Linked DNA regions of Homo sapiens: regions 1 and 3 are each linked to region 2. The links are contacts of gene promoters, found by promoter capture Hi-C in human tissues and cell types (Jung and others, 2019). All regions are on one chromosome and are shown on one strand. The core of a region is centred on a gene start or on the middle of the fragment in contact, and the rest is flanking DNA. Distances in the headings are between cores, read along the strand shown.

Evidence for each region. Contacts are between HindIII fragments. The study calls those that stand out against the background at their distance.
Region 1: the fragment with the promoter of TNFRSF6B here is called in contact with the fragment with the promoter of NPBWR2 in region 2 in 1 of the 25 tissues and cell types used here (dorsolateral prefrontal cortex).
Region 3: a fragment that was not itself captured here is called in contact with the fragment with the promoter of NPBWR2 in region 2 in 4 of the 25 tissues and cell types used here (dorsolateral prefrontal cortex, lymphoblastoid cells, spleen and 1 more).

What each region holds. Positions count from the first base shown.
Region 1 is chr20:63,695,402-63,700,221 of GRCh38, forward strand. TNFRSF6B (TNF receptor superfamily member 6b) reads left to right here and starts at 1,251. Exons shown (of 3, transcript NM_003823.4): 1 at 1,251-1,790; 2 at 1,927-2,121; 3 at 2,879-3,283. The coding sequence starts at 1,367. The coding sequence ends at 3,162. RTEL1 (regulator of telomere elongation helicase 1) reads left to right here. Exons shown (of 35, transcript NM_001283009.2): 34 at 1-249; 35 at 377-844. The coding sequence ends at 457. It overlaps RTEL1-TNFRSF6B (RTEL1-TNFRSF6B readthrough (NMD candidate)), which reads left to right. Exons shown (of 38, transcript NR_037882.1): 34 at 1-249; 35 at 377-453; 36 at 1,359-1,790; 37 at 1,927-2,121; 38 at 2,879-3,297. It overlaps ARFRP1 (ARF related protein 1), which reads right to left. Exons shown (of 8, transcript NM_001267547.3): 8 at 3,246-4,820. RefSeq lists enhancers at 546-595, 2,356-2,405, 3,501-3,550, 3,791-3,970, 4,041-4,090 and 2 more. The HindIII fragment of the contact is 5,085 bases long and covers 1-3,473 here.
Region 2 is chr20:64,106,293-64,111,216 of GRCh38, forward strand. NPBWR2 (neuropeptides B and W receptor 2) reads right to left here and starts at 1,273. Exons shown (of 2, transcript NM_005286.4): 1 at 1,072-1,273; 2 at 1-630. The coding sequence starts at 539. RefSeq lists an enhancer at 821-1,321 and a silencer at 3,305-3,488. The HindIII fragment of the contact is 24,186 bases long and covers 1-4,924 here.
Region 3 is chr20:63,720,750-63,725,424 of GRCh38, forward strand. The region is part of intron 2 of ZGPAT (zinc finger CCCH-type and G-patch domain containing); the gene reads left to right. Among named protein-coding and RNA genes, the nearest start is that of LIME1, 14 kb to the right of the region's middle. The HindIII fragment of the contact is 9,604 bases long and covers 1-4,675 here.

The DNA of each region.
Region 1 (4,820 bases), core at 1-2,500, 410 kb before region 2:
ACTGTGGGGGCGGGCGGTGAGGATGCAGGTCCCAGCCAGTCCTCAGGACCTCCCCACGGGCCTGCAGCATCTGAGTGGGGTGAGCCTCATGGGAGAGACATCGCTGGGCAGCAGGCCACGGGAGCTCCGGGCGGGCCCCTCTCAGCAGGCTGTGTGTGCCAGGGCTGTGGGGCAGAGGACGTGGTGCCCTTCCAGTGCCCTGCCTGTGACTTCCAGCGCTGCCAAGCCTGCTGGCAACGGCACCTTCAGGTTGGTGCCTGGCCACTACAGTTCCTGCTGGGTGTAGCCCCAGGTGATGGGCTGAGGGGGAAAGGGCAGGCCCTTGTCCTGGTGGCAACGCCTGGCAGACGTGTGCAGTGGGCCGGTTGTCTCACAGGCCTCTAGGATGTGCCCAGCCTGCCACACCGCCTCCAGGAAGCAGAGCGTCATGCAGGTCTTCTGGCCAGAGCCCCAGTGAGTGCCCACGGAGGCCCCCAGCACACCCAACGTGGCTTGATCACCTGCCTGTCCAGCTCTGGTGGGCCAAGAACCCACCCAACAGAATAGGCCAGCCCATGCCAGCCGGCTTGGCCCGCTGCAGGCCTCAGGCAGGCGGGGCCCATGGTTGGTCCCTGCGGTGGGACCGGATCTGGGCCTGCCTCTGAGAAGCCCTGAGCTACCTTGGGGTCTGGGGTGGGTTTCTGGGAAAGTGCTTCCCCAGAACTTCCCTGGCTCCTGGCCTGTGAGTGGTGCCACAGGGGCACCCCAGCTGAGCCCCTCACCGGGAAGGAGGAGACCCCCGTGGGCACGTGTCCACTTTTAATCAGGGGACAGGGCTCTCTAATAAAGCTGCTGGCAGTGCCCAGGACGGTGTCTTCGTGGCCTGGGCTTGGTGGTGGGAGTTGAGGGACAGGGAGTTGGCAGAGGCCCCTCCCAGCCTGCCATGTGACACTGTACTTCCTCCACGGTGGGCTCAGCCCTGCCCTCATCCTCACAGCCGCAGCCAAGCTGCAGTTGGTAGGGGATCCACCGACACACCAGGCTGCCTGGGCTGGTCTCTGGGTTGGGAGCTGCCCCAGGTGCTGAGGAGGGCAGCTCCCTGGCTGGTGAGGCCCCTCCCAGAACCACCCTTGGACTGAGCTCTGGGGAGGGATGGTACCAGGTGGGTGAGGGGGGCTGCCTGGGGAGGGAGGGGTTCCTATGGGGCGTGGCGAGGCTGGCCCAGCCCTCTCCCCGCCCATATATGTAGGGCAGCAGCAGGATGGGCTTCTGGACTTGGGCGGCCCCTCCGCAGGCGGACCGGGGGCAAAGGAGGTGGCATGTCGGTCAGGCACAGCAGGGTCCTGTGTCCGCGCTGAGCCGCGCTCTCCCTGCTCCAGCAAGGACCATGAGGGCGCTGGAGGGGCCAGGCCTGTCGCTGCTGTGCCTGGTGTTGGCGCTGCCTGCCCTGCTGCCGGTGCCGGCTGTACGCGGAGTGGCAGAAACACCCACCTACCCCTGGCGGGACGCAGAGACAGGGGAGCGGCTGGTGTGCGCCCAGTGCCCCCCAGGCACCTTTGTGCAGCGGCCGTGCCGCCGAGACAGCCCCACGACGTGTGGCCCGTGTCCACCGCGCCACTACACGCAGTTCTGGAACTACCTAGAGCGCTGCCGCTACTGCAACGTCCTCTGCGGGGAGCGTGAGGAGGAGGCACGGGCTTGCCACGCCACCCACAACCGTGCCTGCCGCTGCCGCACCGGCTTCTTCGCGCACGCTGGTTTCTGCTTGGAGCACGCATCGTGTCCACCTGGTGCCGGCGTGATTGCCCCGGGTGAGAGCTGGGCGAGGGGAGGGGCCCCCAGGAGTGGTGGCCGGAGGTGTGGCAGGGGTCAGGTTGCTGGTCCCAGCCTTGCACCCTGAGCTAGGACACCAGTTCCCCTGACCCTGTTCTTCCCTCCTGGCTGCAGGCACCCCCAGCCAGAACACGCAGTGCCAGCCGTGCCCCCCAGGCACCTTCTCAGCCAGCAGCTCCAGCTCAGAGCAGTGCCAGCCCCACCGCAACTGCACGGCCCTGGGCCTGGCCCTCAATGTGCCAGGCTCTTCCTCCCATGACACCCTGTGCACCAGCTGCACTGGCTTCCCCCTCAGCACCAGGGTACCAGGTGAGCCAGAGGCCTGAGGGGGCAGCACACTGCAGGCCAGGCCCACTTGTGCCCTCACTCCTGCCCCTGCACGTGCATCTAGCCTGAGGCATGCCAGCTGGCTCTGGGAAGGGGCCACAGTGGATTTGAGGGGTCAGGGGTCCCTCCACTAGATCCCCACCAAGTCTGCCCTCTCAGGGGTGGCTGAGAATTTGGATCTGAGCCAGGGCACAGCCTCCCCTGGGGAGCTCTGGGAAAGTGGGCAGCAATCTCCTAACTGCCCGAGGGGAAGGTGGCTGGCTCCTCTGACACGGGGAAACCGAGGCCTGATGGTAACTCTCCTAACTGCCTGAGAGGAAGGTGGCTGCCTCCTCTGACATGGGGAAACCGAGGCCCAATGTTAACCACTGTTGAGAAGTCACAGGGGGAAGTGACCCCCTTAACATCAAGTCAGGTCCGGTCCATCTGCAGGTCCCAACTCGCCCCTTCCGATGGCCCAGGAGCCCCAAGCCCTTGCCTGGGCCCCCTTGCCTCTTGCAGCCAAGGTCCGAGTGGCCGCTCCTGCCCCCTAGGCCTTTGCTCCAGCTCTCTGACCGAAGGCTCCTGCCCCTTCTCCAGTCCCCATCGTTGCACTGCCCTCTCCAGCACGGCTCACTGCACAGGGATTTCTCTCTCCTGCAAACCCCCCGAGTGGGGCCCAGAAAGCAGGGTACCTGGCAGCCCCCGCCAGTGTGTGTGGGTGAAATGATCGGACCGCTGCCTCCCCACCCCACTGCAGGAGCTGAGGAGTGTGAGCGTGCCGTCATCGACTTTGTGGCTTTCCAGGACATCTCCATCAAGAGGCTGCAGCGGCTGCTGCAGGCCCTCGAGGCCCCGGAGGGCTGGGGTCCGACACCAAGGGCGGGCCGCGCGGCCTTGCAGCTGAAGCTGCGTCGGCGGCTCACGGAGCTCCTGGGGGCGCAGGACGGGGCGCTGCTGGTGCGGCTGCTGCAGGCGCTGCGCGTGGCCAGGATGCCCGGGCTGGAGCGGAGCGTCCGTGAGCGCTTCCTCCCTGTGCACTGATCCTGGCCCCCTCTTATTTATTCTACATCCTTGGCACCCCACTTGCACTGAAAGAGGCTTTTTTTTAAATAGAAGAAATGAGGTTTCTTAAAGCTTATTTTTATAAAGCTTTTTCATAAAACTGGTTGTAGTTGCACAGCTACTGGGAGGGCAGCCGGGGACACCTGAGCCGCCCGCTGTGCCCAGATCCCTCAGGCTGCCTGCCATCAGAACTGCTGCCCGGGGCTTCCCCTACCTCAGACAGACCCTCCCTGGGAGGATCAGTGGGGAGTGCCACCTCTGCCCCCAGTGGCTGTGGCACGTGGCAGGGGCCCCTGAAGCTCAGCGAGGGTCAGGGCCTGGGAGGGTATCATTGCTGGAAGAACAGGATGGGGCTCAGGCCAGCCCTAGTCGCCGGGGCCCACACTAACCCCCCACTTATGAATTCCTCCCACTCCCAACTCACAGGGGATTTCCCGAGAGGGGACCTGCCAAAGACCTCCTCCAGGCCTCCCATGCTTTCCGGGAAGTGAAGCTTCTCCCTCTCTGGGGCAGGCTCTGAAGCCTCCCGATGCACCCAGAGCAACCGGGGGGCTGCACCAGCCACTCGCCTCCCCAGCACGGCCAGGTTCCCGGGGCTGGAGGTCCCCCCCAGGTCCTGGGAACCAACCTGCAGAACACACACAGGGTCCCCTGGAGAGGACGCGGGGACTTCCAGGGCCCGACTCCTGTGAGTCACAGCCCCGCAGCTGCTGCGCCACCCCCACCCTGACTCATGCCCCTTCCCAGCAGCTCCTCCCAGGACCCCATGTCCTTCCCACATCCGCAGGAAGGGAGTGCCTGGACTCTCCAGGCCCACCTGGGGAGCCCCTCACCTGCCCACCAGCCCCTGAGCAGCCCAGTAACACCATCACCGTGTCCAACAGCCAGGAGCCTCCACCCTCCAGGAGGGAAGGGATGGACAGAGCCACACTCGCCGTCTTTATTTTGCACTCACCCTGGGTGACACTGGGCAGGCCGCTCCTGCCCACAGCCAGACTGAGGAAGAACACAGCACTCGGCAGGCCCAGTGGGGTCCGTGCAGGGAGGACCCCAGGACCAGCCTTACTCCCGAGCAGGGGACACAGGGCCCCACAGAGAACCCCTCCGGGAGGTTCTCTCCTGGCTGGGGGAGGGCTCTGGACCCCCACAAACACTCCCCAACTTGCGGGGCTGGGGCATAAAAACAGCCACTCCCAGCAGGCCCCCTCAGCTTTTTGCATCAGTCAGCTCCCTCCCGGGGGATTAGGGTGAGGTGAAGCCAGGCCCAGGCGTGGGGTATAGGTCTTCCCCCGCAGGCCTCAGCCCTGTCCCGAGGCTGCATCACAATCCAGGGCCCCCGCTGGCCTTTGGGAACATGGCCTGGGTCTTCCTCAAGGCAAGATCAGCCCCAGACCACTTCCGGGGTCACGGGGTCACGGGGTCACAGGGCAGAAGCCAGATGGCAGCCATGGCTGACGGGCCTCCTCCTCGATGGGGCGGAGACAGCCACGGGGTCTCCCGAGGGTCCCACAGGGCTGTCCTCATGCAGCCCAAGCCAGCCTGAGCACTGGAGCCCCAATTCCCAACCAGGTCTCCCTCAGACCCCCCAGAAAGGGCCTCGAAAGGCCGCCGCTGCGCCCTGTGGAAAGGCTGCCGCT
Region 2 (4,924 bases), core at 23-2,522:
GGCAGAACCAGGACCGTGACGCCCAGCCAGACACACAGGCTGGCGACCTTCGCCCCCCGGTAGGTGCGCCAGGGCATGTGGCGGGACCTCACGGTGGCCAGCACCACCAGGTATCGGTCCACGCTCATCACGGCTAGGAAGTAGATGCTGGAGAAGATGTTGTAGTGGTCGACGGCCAGCACCAGCTTGCAGAGCAGCTCCCCGAAGGGCCAGTACTGCAGCAGGTGCTCCGCGATGTTGACGGGCAGTACCAGCGTGAAGAGCCCGTCGGCGACGGCCAGGTTCAGGATGAACACGTTGGTCACCGTCTTCATCTTGGGCGCCCTTAGGATTACAAGGATGACGGCCGTGTTGCCAGTCAGCCCCACAGCACAGATCCCGGAGTACACGGCGGGCAGGAGCACATAGAGGAACGGCAGTGGCTCGGAGAAGGTGGCATTGTGGCCAGTGCCATTGTCCTGAGAGACGTTGGCACCCATCGTGGGGAGGGAGAAGGAGCCCCTGCTGTCAAGGGGCTCTGGGTGCCCAGCGGCCTGCATTGTAGCTGGGACCGTTGACGATTTGCGCCCTGGGCAGGTGGGAGGTGCCTTGGAGTTGGGTATCTGGTTGGGGGCCTCCTTGGGCTGGATTCTAGGAAAGAAAAACAACCAGAGACTTTGAGATCCGGCCGTCTGTTAGGGCACAGCCACTCCAGGTTCTCTGGCAGAGACTGCGGCCACTTTGCCAGGTCAAGGACATGGGGCCAGAGGGAGCCTGGTGGGGTGTGTGGGGGCCTCCTCCCGCCTCTTCCTGGTGAGACTTCAGCAGATCAGTTCCCTCCTCCCGCAGAGAGCAGCTGCTGGCCACCCTCCTGGGAAGAGATGTGGATCCGTCCCTGCCCCAGCAACCCGCAGATGCACGGGCTGCGTAGAATCAAGCGGTCCCTTTGGAAACACACCTCCCAAGCTCATCTCTGGCTCCCTTGAATCTGAAGGTCCTTCCCTCAGGGGTCTTGGAGTCTGCACCCTCCCTCACACCCTCCCGAGAGATGCTGCAGACCCTGCTGGTCCAGCTACTCTTCTCTCCACTGACCTGTCCAGTGCTTCGAGTCCAGAAGTTGGTAGCCTTGGTGTGTTCCTGGTTTTGGCCAGTACAGGCAGTCGCAGGGATGGAGGGCGAGGTGTGGTCCTCACTGACAGACCTCCAGCTGAGGTTTCAGGAGTTTCAAGACCTGCCCTGCTGGCTGCCTCAGCCCCGGCTGCGAGGTTCCCAGCCTGGTGTCAGTGCTGATGCTGGTGAGGGAGGGAGGCGGATCCCCCTTGCTGACGTGGAGCCCGGAAGGCAGGCCCCACCTTCCCCTGAGCTGCAGTAGCGCCTGCAGTCGGCTGTCCCAGGGTCTCCTCAGCATTCACTTACCCAGGCAGACTCCTCAGTGGGCGGCTGAGGCACGTGTGCGCCTGTGTGTCAGGAAGGGACTCCATGCAGGGGCCTCTGGGTGTGCCCAGGTCTTCGGGCAGAGGGCACTGAAGGCATCTGTGCCTCTGTCCGGGAGTCACTGTGGGCCTGGGCACCCTTATCTGTGAACATGGGTGTCTTGGTGGGTCTCCTGCCCCACCCTGTGTGTGTACATGGTGTGTTCCTGTGTGTGTGTGCCAGTTAGGACATGTACGTGTGTGGGCCTGTGTCTGCCTGTATGGGGGTCTCTGTGGGTGAGCTCTGCGTTGTATCTGAGTGGGTCTACATGTCCTTGGCTGAGTGTGGGCATCTGGGGGGTCTGTATGCCCTCATGTGGAAGCAGAACTTGTTGGCCATAGGCAACCCACCTTCTTTTTTTGTCTTTTGCTAAAAGAGGAACTCAGCCTAGGCAAGCTGTGAAAGGCTGCAGAGAAGACGTTCTCACGCTGACACGTAACTCTCCCGCCGTCCTGCAGAGGTGGTGAGCATCACACTCTGCTCTGGGTTGGTCTTTAAGTCCTTCCCTTCTCCCTGCTTTTCTTCCTTGCTGGACGCACCCTGGCTTATCCAACCCGTGTGTGTGCAGCTCGGCCGCATCTGGACCTGCTTTGCAGGCAACGCCACAGCTGACACGAGCAGTCGCCAGTCTCAGAGCCGCTCCTCAGCGGAGACGTGTTGGGTCAGAGGGTCTGTGTTTTCTTTCCTTTCTTCTTTTTTGAGACAGGGTCTTGCCCTGTCACCCAGGCTGGGGTGCAGTGGCACTATCATGGCTCACTGCAGCCCTGACCTCCCTGGGCTCAGGTGATCCTCCCACCTCAGCCTCTCAAGTAGCTGGGACTACAGGCATGTGCCACCATGCCTGGCTAATTTTTGTGTTTTTTTTTGTAGAGACGGGGTTTCACCATGTTGCCCAGGCTGGTCTCGATCTCCTGAGCTTCAGCCTCTACCTCAGCCTCCCAAAGTGCTCAGGTTATAGCCATGACCCACCGTGCCTGGTCACTGTGTGTTTTCAGTCTGGGGAGATGTGTCTGCCCATCGAGACTGTGCCCGCTGCCTGTGGGGTTGCAAGGATGTCACCGCACACTCATGGTCGGCCTTCTTTCCTGAGAGTTGCTCTGTCAAGTCTATTGGTTAGGACAGGAGCCTGGGCAGTCGCCCTGAGTACCCTGATGTCGCCAGCCTGAGGGTACACTGTGGGTGGGCCCCGAGCTACCCTTCTATGGGCTGTGCCATGTGGATGTTGAGTCCGGGGTCAGGGAACCCTGCTGAGATATCTCACACTCCTCTTCAGCCAGTTTGGGGATGGCGGTGGGGGGGATCTGTGGGTGTGTCTCGAGGGAGCGTGGGGCTTGTAGCCACAGTTTGTCACATAAGTGGAGCTTGACGCCCACAAGGTCAGGGGATGGTGATTAGCAGCCGTGAGGAGAGGGTGCATTGGGGCTGAATTTTGTGATTTGGGGTGTTCGTGGGGTCGGGAGGGGTCAGTTCACAGCTCCTGGAAACCAGAGGCGTGACACAGAGAGGCCAGGCCTGGCATGTGGTGGCCCAGGCATTGACCAGGGTGTGGGCTGGGCCAGGCGGTCACTGGTCTTGGCTGGGGAGCGGCCGACCATGGCCTCAGCACCGGGCACTGGGAGAATGTCCCAGGCCTGCTGTCACCGAGCTGCTGTCCTGGGGTGGGGCTGGCCACGCTGGCCTGATTCTGGGCCTCCCTGGGGGCCTGCTGTCACCGAGCTGCTGTCCTGGGGTGGGGCTGGCCACACTGCCTGACTCTGGGCCTCCCTGGGGGCATTGCTGGGGGCCTCTCCCTTCCATGCATTTTGGGAGGGGCCCAGGCTAGTGCCGGTGCCTTCCTCTGCCCCCCAGGGCTGGCTGGCAGCCTGCCCAGTGACCCCCGTGTGGCCTGAGCTCTGGGCACCCCTGCTGGTCTTTGCCCTGCAGGATACCGACTGCCACCCACACCTTCTTCAGAGCAGGGTGTTCCAGGAGGGTCTTCCCTTAAGCCTCAGTAGTGGGGAGCCCAGTGTCAGAGGCATCCCTCAGAGCACAGAATCTTCCCATGCAAAGATCCCACTGTGTGTCTGGCTTCCTCTGAAGCCAACCACGAGTCTGGGTCCTCTTCCCTCCACCGGTATCTGGTGAGTCTGGGAATCGGAGCCCCTCCCAGACTCTAGCTCTGCTCTCCTGAGCCTGTCCTGAAGGCTGGTCTGGCACCACCGCCCGCCGGTCACATTGGAGGTGGGGTGCGCATGATGGAAGGGATGGGGACCCTGAGGGCAGTGGGGATGGGGGAGACTGCCAGGTGCTGAGCTCAGGACCCCGGGGAGGCCGGCTGGAGGTGTCAGGTCCTCCTGGCCACAAAAGCAGCAGCCCCAGGGGCCTTTTCCTCCTCCCAGAAGCACCTCACCGATGCCCGCTGCAACACCAGGGCCTGAGCCGGGGGTGCTCCCCCGTCTGTACCCCCAGCACTCAGGGCTCAGAAAGGCCCTTTGCTCTGTTCGTGGGCTGGGCATTGTTCCAGCCAGCTGTGAGCTTGTGAGAGCATCGTTCTGTGGAAATGGTTTCCATTTTCAGAAATAAATTGGCCTTTTCAAATGAACCTGTGAGGCCCTTTGGGTGAAGAGAGGAGAGGCCAGGGAGGGAGGGAGCCGTGGTCAGCTCTGTTGGGCAGAACGGTGGTGGGGGCCTGACAGCAAGGCCACTGACATGGCACATCCTCTGTCTGGGGTGTGGGGTGAGGGAGTGATGGGTGCCAGTCAGTGTGCATCTGAGCATTTTGTGGGGCTGCGTGTGGGGGTCTTGCAGGGACCTGAAGGAGACCCCTAGGGCAGGGGCCAGGGAGAAGCGCCAGGACCCTGGGACAGCCTGAGCAACACACAACATAGCTGTGCTGGCTTCACGCTTGTTGCCGCTTCACATAGGTGTGGCAGCTGCCCTCCACCTGTCCCCCTGTGTGCAGGGACACCTGTCCCTCAGTCCGTGCTGCGACTTGGATCTTCACACGGGCATGCATATGTGTAGCAGGCATACAGACCCAGAGATTCATACAGACTCCAGTGTGCTTGTTGACCATCTCATCTCCAGCCAGGCAGGCCCTGGTAGGAGGGGTGGATTCTGCCCTGTGGCCAGAGTCCAGGCCTGTCTGCCCTGCTCTCTCTCCTCCATCAGCTCTCCAAGATGAGCCTCAACTGTAGCTGTGGCCCTGCAGGTTAAGTCCTCCCAAGAGGCCTAGGCCATTAAGACCAGTGAGAGGGCCGGGGGCGGTGGCTCATACCTGTAGTCCCAGCACTTTGGGAGACCAAGGTGGGCAGATTGCTTGAGCCCAGGAGTTCGAGACCAGTCAAGGCAACATGGTGAAACCTCATCTCTACAAAAAAAATACAAAAGGCCGGGTGCGGTGGCTCACGCCTGTAATCCCAGGACTTTGGGAGGCCGACGTGGGCAGATCACCTGAGGTCAGGAGTTCAAGACCAGCCTGGCCAACATGGCG
Region 3 (4,675 bases), core at 1,448-3,947, 380 kb before region 2:
GGCCTGTTAATTTCTTTATTTCCGGTGAATGGGCCACACTTTCTTGTTTCTTTGCATGCCTTGTAATTTTTTGTTGAAACCTGCACAATTTGAAGATGATAATGTGGTTACTTTGAAAATCAGATCCTCCGCCCTCTGCAGGGTTCATTGTTGCTGTTTGTTGTGGATTGTCGTTTCTCGTTTGTTTAGTTACTTTCCTGACCTTTTTAAATAAAGATTATATTCTGTCAGGGGTGCTTGTTTCTGTTCTTTTAGGTTAGTGGTTAGCTTGTGCTTTGAAAGAGATTTCTTTAAATATCTAGTGGCAAAAAGGATAAAGAGGCCGGGCGCAGTGGCTCACGCCTGTAATGCTAGGACTTTGGGAAGTGGAGGCGGGTGGATCACTTGAGGTCAGGAGTTTAAGATCAGCCTGGCCAGTATGGTGAAACCCTGTCTCTACTAAAAATACAAAAATTAACCGGGCATGGTGGCACCTGCCTGTAGTCCCAGCTACTGGGAAGACTGAGGCAGGAGAATCGCTTCAACCCAGGGGGCGGAGGTTGCAGTGAGCTGAGATTGCGCCATTGCACTCCAGCCTGGGCAACAGAGCGAGACTCTGTCTCAAATAAAAAAAAAAAAAAAAAGGATAAAGAGTGTCTTCCATCCTTTCCAGGTTGCCTCTGTACTGGGGCAAGTCCTTCAGTGTCCGCCAGGCTGTTCACGGCTTTTCCTCAGCCTTTACTTCTTGCTCCCATGGAGCCTAAGGATGAACCAGAGGTGAAAGTTGAGGGCCTCCTCAGGTGTTTCTGAGCCCCTGTCTAGCCCCAGCTGTGTGCATGGCCTTCTGGATTTCCAAGCATGAACAGGAGCTTTCCAAAGCCCTTAGACCTTCATGTAGCTCTTTTCCCAGCCTCTTCCTTCCTAGGCTTTTCTGTCAGCTCTTTGCCCATCTGTTGTTGTCCCTCCCCCACAACTTCAGGTAGTATCTACCTGTAAATGCCTTCAGGCCAGGCGCGGTGGCTCATACCTGTTATCCCAGCACTTTGGGAGGCCGAGGCGGGTGAATTGCTTGAGGTCAGGAGTTCGAGACCAGCCTGGCCAACATGGTGAAGCCCCGTCTCTAGTAAAAATACAAAAATTAGCTGGGCGTGGTGGGTGCCTGTAATCTCAGCTACTCGGGAGGCTGAAGCAGGAGAATTGCTTGAGCCTGGGAGGCGGAGGTTGCAGTGAGCTGAGATCGTGCCATTGCACTCCAGCCTGGGCGACAGAGTGAGACTCCATCTCGGGGAAAAAAAAAAAAAAAAAATGCCATCAACAGCACGACCCTGGAGGCTGCCCCAGCCCTGAGAGAGTTCGAGGGGGTGAAACAAAGGCAAGCCCTTCAGGGAGACACTAGAAAGATCCAAATGCATAAGCAGGATTCCTTGAGAAAAGGTCTGTATCATCCCTTCTGACACCAGCAAGCCACATCAGAAATACAGGTTGCCTTCCCCATGGCTACATGTGAGCTGGTAGTAGTGGCTGAGCAGAAATAGCCCAGCTGTCCTCCTGAAATTTAGCAGGGTCTTACTTCATTGAGCAGTCATCTGGTTCGTAGACACCAGAGTTACAGAAAAGTTTATTGGGAGGTTTTGACAGTTTAATAGAAAAAAGTTTATTGTGACAGTTTTGACAGCTGAATAGAAAAAAGTTTATTGTGACAGTTTTGACAGCAGAATAGTTGCTTTGCTGGAGAGACGGATCTTTGGAGCTGCCAACTCCATCATTTTGGTGATATCCAGCTCTGTTGCTGAATTTTTAGCTATGCTGTTTTAAGTTATTTTCTTAGTGGTTGCTCTAGAGATGACAATGTACATCTTTAACTTACCACAATGTACTTCAGATTATTACTAACTTAACACTTAAAGTACAGCATTTTTTTTTTTATGGAGTTTCACTCTGTCACCCAGGCTGGAGTGCAATGGTGTGATCTCGGCTCACTGCAACCTCCGCCTCCCAGGTTCACGCCATTCTCCTGCCTCAGCCTCCTGAGTAGCTGGGACTACAGGCACCCCCACCACACCCGGCTAATTTTGTATTTTTAGTAGAGATGAGGTTTCACCATGTTGGTCAGGCTGGTCTCGAACTGCTGACCTCAGGTGATCCGCCCATCTTGGCCTCCCAAAGTGCTGGGATTACAGGTGTGAGCGACTGCACTGAGCCTAAGTATGGCAACGTGTCTATAACATAGATCTACTTCCGTTGTACTATGACATAGTTCCCCCTCCATTTTCCTATAGCACAGTCCCAACCTCCCTTTTCCTCTGACATAGTTCCATCCTCCCTCCTCCTATGACGTCCTCCCTTCTCCTCTGGCATAGCTCCATCCTCCCTTCTCCTATGACACAGCTCCATCCTCCCTTCTCCTCTGACATAGCTCCATCCTCCCTTCTCCTATGACACAGCTCCATCCTCCCTTCTCCTCTGACATAGCTCCATCCTCCCTTCTCCTGTGTCATAGCTCCATCCTCCCTTCTCCTCTGACACAGCTCCATCCTCCCTTCTCCTCTGGCATAGCTCCATCCTCCCTTCTCCTATGACACAGCTCCATCCTCCCTTCTCCTATGACACAGCTCCATCCTCCCTTCTCCTATGACACAGCTCCATCCTCCCTTCTCCTATGACACAGCTCCATCCTCCCTTCTCCTATGACACAGCTCCATCCTCCCTTCTCCTCTGGCATAGCTCCATCCTCCCTTCTCCTCTGACATAGCTCCATCCTCCCTTCTCCTCTGACATAGCTCCATCCTCCCTTCTCCTCTGACATAGCTCCATCCTCCCTTCTCCTCTGACATAGCTCCATCCTCCCTTCTCCTCTGACATAGCTCCATCCTCCCTTCTCCTCTGACATAGTTCCATCCTCCCTTGTCCTCTGACATAGCTCCATCCTCCCTTCTCCTCTGACATAGCTCCATCCCCTCTTCTCCTTCATGTATTATTGCCATATATACATTTATGTATGTTATAACTTCAGCTCTTCAGCGTTATAATTATTGCTTCAAAAGTATTTTGAAAGAAGTTGCCTGGAGGCAGTGGCTTATGCCTTTAACTCCAGCACTTTTGGGGGCTGAGGTGGGCAGATCGCCTGAGCCAGGGAGTTGGAGACCAGCCTGGGCAACATGACGAAACCCATCTCCACCAAAATTACAAAAAATTAGTCTGGCATGGTGGCACGCGCCTGTAGTCCCAGCTATTTGGGGGAGGATCCCAGCTAAGGTGGGAGGATCACTTGAGCCTGGGAAGTCAAGGCTGCAGTGAGCTGAGATTGTGCCACTGCACTCCAGCCTGGGTGCAGATCTTATCTCAGAAGTAAAGGGACTAGGAATGGTGGCTTTTATCTCTAATCCCAGCACTTTGGGAGGCTGAGGTGAGTGGATCACCGGAGGTCAGGAGTTTAAGACCAGCCTGGCCAACATGGTGAAACCCCGTCTCTACTAAAAATACAAAAAGTAGCCGGGTGTGGTGGTGGGTGTCTGTAATCCCAGCTACTCGGGAGGCTGAGGCAAGAGAATCGCTTGAACCTGGGAAGCGGAGGTTGCAGTGAGCAAGATCGCACCACTGCATTACAGCCTAGATGACAGAGCGAGACTCTGCCTAAAAAAAAAAAAAAAAAGAAAAGAAAAGAAATTAAGATCTGGACACTGTGGTTCATGCCTGTAATCCCAAAGCCTTGGGAGGCCAAGGCAGGAGGATCACTTGAGGCCAGGAGTTCAACACCAGCCTGGGCAACATAGCGAGACTCCATCTCTATTTAAAAAAGAAAGAAATTCAAAGAGAAAAAAAGTATACTTGTTTTTTTGTATCATCCATATTTTACCTTTCTTTTTTTTGCCCCTTTTTCTTTCCTGTGAATTTGAGTTACTGTCTAGTGTCATTTCCTTTTAGTCTGAAGAACTTCATTTAGAATTTTTTTTTTTTTTTTTTGAGACAAAGTCTCACTGTGTTGCCCAGGCTGGAGTGCAATGGTGCAGTCTCAGATCACTGCAACCTCTGCCTCCCTGGTTAGAGTGATTTTCCTGCCTCAGCCTCCCAAGTAGCTGAGACTGCAGGCACCTGCCACCACCCCCAGCCAATTTTTTTGGTATTTTTAGTAGAGACAGGGTTTCACTATGTTGGCCAGGCTGGTCTCGAATTCATGACCTCATGATCTGCCTGTCCTGGCCTCCCAAAATGCTGGGATTACCATGAGCCACCACGCCCAGCCCATTTAGAATTTCTTTTTTTTTTTTTTTTTGAGATGGGGTCTCGCTCTTGTTTCCCAGGCTGGAGTGCAGTGGCACGATCTCGGCTCACTGCGAGCTCCGCCTCCCGGGTTCACGCCATTCTCCTGCCTCAGCCTCCCGAGTAGCTGGGATTACAGGCGCCTGCCACCACGCCCACCTAATTTTTTGTATTTTTAGGAGAGATGGGGTTTCACCGTGTTAGCCAGGATGGTCTTGATCTCCTGACCTCGTGATCCGCCCGCCTTGGCCTCCCAAAGTGCTGGGATTACAGGCGTGAGCCACCGCGCCCGGCTAGAATTTCTTGTAGGACAGGCTTGCTAGCAACCAATTCAGTGTTTATTTGGGAATGTCTTTATTTCAGCTTCATTTTTTGAAGGATAGTTTAGCTGGCTATAGAATTATTAATTGATCATTCTTTTCAGTGTTTAAAAGTG